2 separate regions of the Homo sapiens genome follow, and region 2 is linked to region 1. The links are contacts of gene promoters, found by promoter capture Hi-C in human tissues and cell types (Jung and others, 2019). All regions are on one chromosome and are shown on one strand. The core of a region is centred on a gene start or on the middle of the fragment in contact, and the rest is flanking DNA. Distances in the headings are between cores, read along the strand shown.

What was found. Contacts are between HindIII fragments. The study calls those that stand out against the background at their distance.
Region 2: a fragment that was not itself captured here is called in contact with the fragment with the promoter of PCBP3 in region 1 in 8 of the 25 tissues and cell types used here (H1 embryonic stem cells, IMR-90 fibroblasts, dorsolateral prefrontal cortex and 5 more).

The regions. Positions count from the first base shown.
Region 1 is chr21:45,642,195-45,645,533 of GRCh38, reverse strand. PCBP3 (poly(rC) binding protein 3) reads right to left here and starts at 1,809. Exons shown (of 18, transcript NM_001384156.1): 1 at 1,666-1,809. RefSeq lists silencers at 1,155-1,294, 1,615-2,604. The HindIII fragment of the contact is 13,348 bases long and covers 1-3,339 here.
Region 2 is chr21:45,732,856-45,736,194 of GRCh38, reverse strand. It overlaps PCBP3 (poly(rC) binding protein 3), which reads right to left. Exons shown (of 18, transcript NM_001384156.1): 3 at 766-803. Among named protein-coding and RNA genes, the nearest start is that of PCBP3, 91 kb to the right of the region's middle. The HindIII fragment of the contact is 8,113 bases long and covers 1-3,339 here.

The DNA.
Region 1 (3,339 bases), core at 560-3,059:
TGTGTGGGTTTTCCCCCACCATGAGCATTATAAAGATATCTGGGAAAGTGATGTTTTGAGGTCCAAAAGCACCACTAATCAGCAGCACCTGGGGCAACGCCAGCCAAAAAGCCCTGAATTCTAGACAGAGTCCATTTTTTTCAGTTATAAAGACCCCATTTATCATCAAAACTTTTTCAAAACCTTATAATATTATCAACTAAGAAAATACGTGAAGCTACGTAAGTTCTAAACCATTCGTAATGAACTTGCACTGTATAAACAACAGCATCTACATACAAGCAAAAAAAAAAAATACTGCTCGAAAGTGAGACATCAGTTAGTCGGTCACTGCACTTGTTAGTTTTAAGGCCCCATGTTTTCTGACAGATCTCCAAGCCTGAAAACACCAGAACTATTTCTGCTTCTGTCGTGTGATGATCAATTAGGTCCTTTCAGATCTTGCAAATGATCCCTTTAGAGTGCCACTGTTCTACAAACACTCCTTTTGGGGCCAAAATAGGTATCTCTGACACGCTTTAAGATGATGAATTATTCTTGAATATGAGGAGGACTGGGAGTTAGTTCTCTTAAATAGGGAAGCACCCTTGCACACTCCTTTGGGATCCACATCTGAGAAAGTCCAAAGAAAAGAAAAAGGGCAACAGTTTGCCCCTGAAAGTGAGTTCAATTTCAGAGGGATATGTGAGGGCCTGTGCCAGAGGAATATTTTTGAAATGGGGGGAGTCTATAAGTTGCCCAGTCTAATCTCTAAAGGCCTCTCCGCAAGGCCCTGCTGCTCAAGATTCCTTCTGGCGAATCCCACTCTACAAACACTCAACAACTAAGAGTGCTACTGGCTCACATGGAGGGCTAACAAGACCTGCAAATCCAGGCTGCTCTGAAGGACGGTGGAAGATAACCAACCCCGAGCCACGAGATTTAGGACCCGACTTTTGGTTAACTTTCAAATTTCTTATGCCAGTAATATACTTCAGAGTGGCGCGGAGGGAATTGGAAAACATCACCAGGCAAAAAAAAGAAAAAAACTCTTTCACGAAACAAGACTTCCAATTAGAACACGTGTGGGGACAATAAGAAACACGTTCTAACCACCCCCAAAATTAAAATAAAACACAGCGAGCAACAAGAGAGACCTGCGCGCGCCCCACCGCCCGCGCGCGGCTCTCCGCAGGGTCACCGAGGGGTGAGGCCGCGCTCTCCCGGCGGCCGTCCAGGGGGAGGAGGCCCCGCGCCCCGCCCCGCCGCCCTCCAGCCGCCGCGGCCGCTCCGGGGTGTTCCCCAGATCTCTTCTCAATCAAGAGATGAAATTTGTGCCGTTTTGAAACTGAAGCCTCAAGTAGTCCAGACGTTTTCTGACCCACATCCGAGACGTTCTCGGCTTCCCGCCGCAACTTCCGAATTTGGGGAGGGGGCGGAGGCGGGCGGGCCAGGCCTGGCGACCGCACCTTGAGGGAGCGCGAGTCCCCTCGCTGCCCCGGGCCGCCGCAGGCGCCGGCGGCGGTCGGGGACGGCGCGACCCAGCCCGGGACCCCCGCCCGCCCCGGCTCGGGCGAAGTTTGCCGCGGCCCGGGGTCGCCCCGTCACTCGGCCTCCGTCGGGGACTGGGTCCCCGTAACCCGCAAGGGCGCCCGACCCCGACCCCGCCCGCCACCGCTCACTCACCTGCCCTGCGCCGGACGGCGAGCCCGCGGGCCGGCGGGGAGAGGCCGGGAGGCCCGGGCGGGGTCGGGGCGAGGCGGGTGAGGAGGCGGCGGCGGAGCCTAAGTCAGCCGAAGCGGCGGCGACCGCGGCTGAGGCGGCTGAGGCGGCGGTCGCGGCTTCAGGCGCTCCAGCCCGAGCGCTGCGCGCGGCGCGGGCCCGCCCCTCTGCGCCGCTAACCAATCTAGCGCCGCGCGCCGCCGCCGGCCCCGCCCCCGCCCAAGGGCAGGCTCGCGAAAGCGGGCGCCGCGGGCCAATGAAAGGGCGGAACATCAACCGGCGCGGCCAATCCGAGCCCGGAAAGTTCTCTGGAAAAAGCCAACTCCAGTCAAAGGGGCGGGGGTGGGGCTGGGGGCGGGGCGGGGACCTGGCCCAATGACGCGCGGGGCGGGGCCGAGCATTGGGCGGGGAGGAGGCGGGGCCTCGAACGGGCGGGCCGGTCACTAGTAGTGGGCGGGGTCGTAGGCGGGACATTGAGCGGGCGGGGCAAGAATCGGGGCGGGGGCCTAATGAAGTGAAGCGGGGAGGGGACGGGCAGTGGGAGGGGCAGGTCACATTTGGGGTGGGGTGGGGGCGGGGCAGGGGCGGGGCTGAGTACGGGAGGCCAGGCCGGGGAGAGGCCTAAGTCGGGGCGGGCGGGAGAAGGGCAAGAGCAGTGGGCGGGGCTCGGGGGTTAGGGGATTAGTGCCCTTGCTGGGGCGGGGCCCAGGCTTGGGGCGGGCCTGTGGTGGGCAGGGCCGTGGATGGGCGGGGCGAGCCTTCGTGGGCGGGCCAGGCCTGTGGTGGGCGGGGCGGGCCGTTGGTGAGCGAGACCTTGGTGGACGGGGCGGATCCGCGGTGGGCGGGGATTTGGCGGGCGGGCGGGTGGGCCCGACGGGACGGGAATGGCCGTTGAATTCCCAGCCGTGCCGCAACCCCGAAGGTCCCCCTGCAGCGCCCGCTTCCCGTTCTCTGTGGGCCTGGCCCCGGCCCGGAGGCTGGGGCCGCAGCGCCCGGCGGGCAGGGGCCCCGAGCGGCTCGTGAGCCTGTGCCCAGACGCTGCCCGCCCCGCGCTGGTCCCGCCGCCCTGTCCCCTCCGCCCGCCCGGCGTTCGCGTGCCGTGGCCTGGGGCGGGGCGTTGCTGGGCCCCGGGGGCTGCAGGGGGAGGCCGCCCTTTCTCTGGGCTGGCTCCGGGCTGTTCCGCTCCGCGCCGTTTTCCCGGTACTTCCCGCGGAGCCCGCCTCGCTGTGCGTCCCCGCCCGGGCGTTTCTTCCGCGGCGCTGAGCGCCCGCCCCGGCCTCGGGCAAGGGCAGCCGGACGCCCCGAGGACCAGGGCGCTGGGGCCGAGGCGCGTCCTCCGCAGTCGCCGCGCCTGGGCCCCGTTTCCCCGCGGGTCCTCGCCGGGGTGGGAGGCGCCTCTTGGCGTCCGTGGGGAGCTGGGTGTGGGGGGCGGCAGGGCAGGAGGTGGGGGGGCTGAGCCGGAGAAACGTCCTCGCCCCGCCCGAGACCTCAGACACCCCAGAACCTCGGGCCGGCAGCCAGCTGCAGGAATCGCGCCCTAAAGCCTGGGGTCCGCGCCCGCCCGCCTCCCGCGAGCGCCAGGGGCTGCCGGGTCACCGGGATGCAGCCTCGAGGCGACGTCACAGACCCCACGCGGCC
Region 2 (3,339 bases), core at 512-3,011, 91 kb before region 1:
TTCTATGGAAGTTATGAAATCAGGCTGGCTGGTACTACTTCATCAGCATCAGCAGCCATCATGACTCCATTAGTTTTCCATGCAGAACTGCAAATATACACCAAGTTCCTGCTGAAAACGTTTTGAAAATGACCTTTAATAAGCTTTAGAAAAAGAAAGACATCTTAAGGATAATTTTAAAAGGAGTCATCTCAAGGTAGTTTTACAAAACTAGAATTGGGACCACAGTGCATTGTGTGAGACAGGTGAGTGCCTCTGTGTGCTGGCCGGTGCCAGGTCCTTTCCACAGATGTCACCCATGCACTGTGTGGCTTCAGACATTGTGGTGCCATCATGGCCACCGCACACACAGGCACTACCGGGCAGTGGGCACTGTTGGCACAAGAACAAAGGCGTGCGGTAGGCTTGTGCGGTAGGCTCGTGCAGTAGGCTCCAAGTGCACTAACAACTGGCCCTCCAGCTCCTGCTGGTCTACATGGTCAGGTTAACTGTGGAGAAAGGTTACCAGAGAGGGAGGAAACTGCCTCTTTTAAAATTTTGGTTCCACAGAAGCAAGAAGGGAAAACGCGTGTCACTCACACTACATGCTCTTGGCAGTAGTGTGACCTGAGGCAGGTTCCCCATGAGACATAAAACCAGGATCCAGAGGGTCAGCAGAGACACACAGCTTCCCTTGAGAGCAAGACTTTCAACTCTGCTGACACCGAAAGAGTCGTTTAGTCTAAAAATATCGCCTGTGACAGCATCATAAGAAGCACTACTTACACGGAACCACGTGGGGAGCTTCTCTCTTGTAGACAGTCCTGTAAACAGTTGAAGGAAAAAACAATTAAAATTGGAAATCATAGGCTTTCCAAAGAGAGACAGAAATCACAATCTATCACCTTAGATACCAAATTTTATCAAACCAAAGTCATCTATTAAAAAGACATGTTTATAAATCAGTTATTGGGAAGGTCAAAGACAGTTTCCCAGAGAAAGAATTCCATAAAAAGTGATTCAATTCTAAACTGAGTCTGGAACATACACGACACTGATAAAGACTCAGAACCCCAGGGTCCCTGAACCTTGACCCACAGTCCTCGGCCTGACTGACGTCTGGGGCACAGCTGATTCTCAAATCCCTCTGAATCTATAGGGGAAGGTAAGAACACAGGGAGAGTATACGGGACGGGACAGCCCAGAACACCCACAGTCTCGGCTCCACCCTGAAGGGCCTTCACCTGGACCACAGGCCAAGGGTTCTCCCTGTGCAGACTGAATTAGCAGGTGAACACCGCGCAGAGACTCCTACAGACAGACAGCCGGCCTCTGTCCAGTGATGTCCAAAGACTACAGAAACATAAGAAAGCCTGGACCATGGTCAGCTGTGACAGAGAAAGAGTGAGACTGGGATGACTCTCCCACCTCACTTAAAAGTCAGACAAAAGATATGAGACGAGGGTGTTCAGACATGGAGCAGCAGGCAGCACAGGACAACGATCCCCAGAGAAGGGAAGCAAATGGGTTGCATCCTACAATTGCTGCAGCCTACAGCCTGGGGAGAGTGCCTGGGCCACAGCACAGGAAGGGGGAACCCAGGCAAGGCCAGGGGAGTTGGAAACGGAGTTGAGAATTCAGGGAGGCAAAGGCAGAGAGGAAAGGGGAGAGATGCAACTGACATCTCTGGAAGTCGGTGGGCTGGGCCTGCAGCACCGTCTCATCAGGATGCACTGCACTCAGGACCCCACAGCACAGGAGGCAAAAGCTAGAATTAGAGGGCAGAGTACCAGAAAGGAATGCCCTGCACAGAGAAACATCCCAGAGGTCTGTGGTGGATTCTCTAGTCTCTGCCTGGACATGGATGGGCACATGTGAGTGAGTGGACTACAGGAGGTCGGGGGAAGAACCAATGAAAAGAAAAAGTACAGACAATAGCTATGGCTCACACAGATCTGGGAAGAGTTCCTACTCCCAACAACTAGGCTGCAGGAGCCTTGCAGTACAGGGGACACCACACTGAGCACTCAAATGACTGCACTGGCAGCAGACTAAGCTGGGGTACTACACTAGGCAATGCTTAACAAAGTCAGCAACAAGCTGCCAAAAAATCTGAACTTTCCAAGTAACTTAAATGCATTCCAAAACATAGTTCAAAATATTTTAAAAGAATGCAGAGTCCAACAATACAAAGTTTACGATGTCTTTCATCCGTCCAAAACTGACGAGGCATGCAAAGAAGCACAAAAATATATCTCATAATGAGATTGGTTGATCAGTAAGATACAAACTCAGAAATTATACACACAGAGATCATTAGTACACAAAGACATTAAAACAGCTATTATACACTTTAGGAGGCAGAGGCAGGCAGATCACTCGAGGTCAGGAGTTCAAGACCAGCCTGAGCAACATGATGAAATCCCATCTCTATTAAAAATACAAAAATTAACCAGGCGTGGTGGTGGGCACCTGTAATCCCAACTACTTGGGAGGCTGAAGCAGGAGAATTGCTTAAACCCAGGAAGTAGAGGCTTCAGTGAGCCAAGATCGCACCACTGCACTGCAGCCTGGGTGACAGAGCTAGACTCCATTTGAATAAATAAATACATAAATAAATAAATAGGCCAGGCACGGTGGCTCATGCCTGTAATCCCAGCACTTTGGGAGGCCGAGGCGGGCAGATCATGAGGTCAGGAGATCGAGACCATCCTGGCTAACACAGTGAAACCCCGTCTGTACCAAAAATACACACAAAAAAATTAGCCAGGCATGATGGCGGGCGCCTGTAGTCCCAGCTACTTGGGAGGCTGAGGCAGGAGAATGGCGTGAACCCAGGAGGTGGAGCTTGCAGTGAGCCGAGATGGCACCACTGCACTCCAGCCTGGGCGACAGAGCGAATCCATCTCAAAAAATAAATACATAAATAAATAAAACATCTATCATAAATACATTGTATATGTAGAAGATGATACAGGAAAGCATAAAATGCTAAGGAGAGACAAGAAAAGTATTTTTAAAACACACAAATCAAGCATGCAGAGATGAAAAATACATCTGAGATTTAAAAAAATATACTGACTGGGATTAACACCATATTAGACCACAAAAGAAAAGATCAGTCAATGTACAGACAGAATAATCTGTGCAGACAGAAACTACCTAAAATAAAACACAGATAAAGATTCTCTACTCCCAAAAGACAAAAATATATGTGTAATTGGAGACCCAGAAGCAGGGGATGGGACAAGCCAAAAACATATTTTAAAAAATAATGACAAAAGGCAGGGCAGAGTGGCTCAAGCCTGTAATCCCAGCACTCTGAGAGCCCAGGAGTTTGAGACCAGCCTGGACAACACA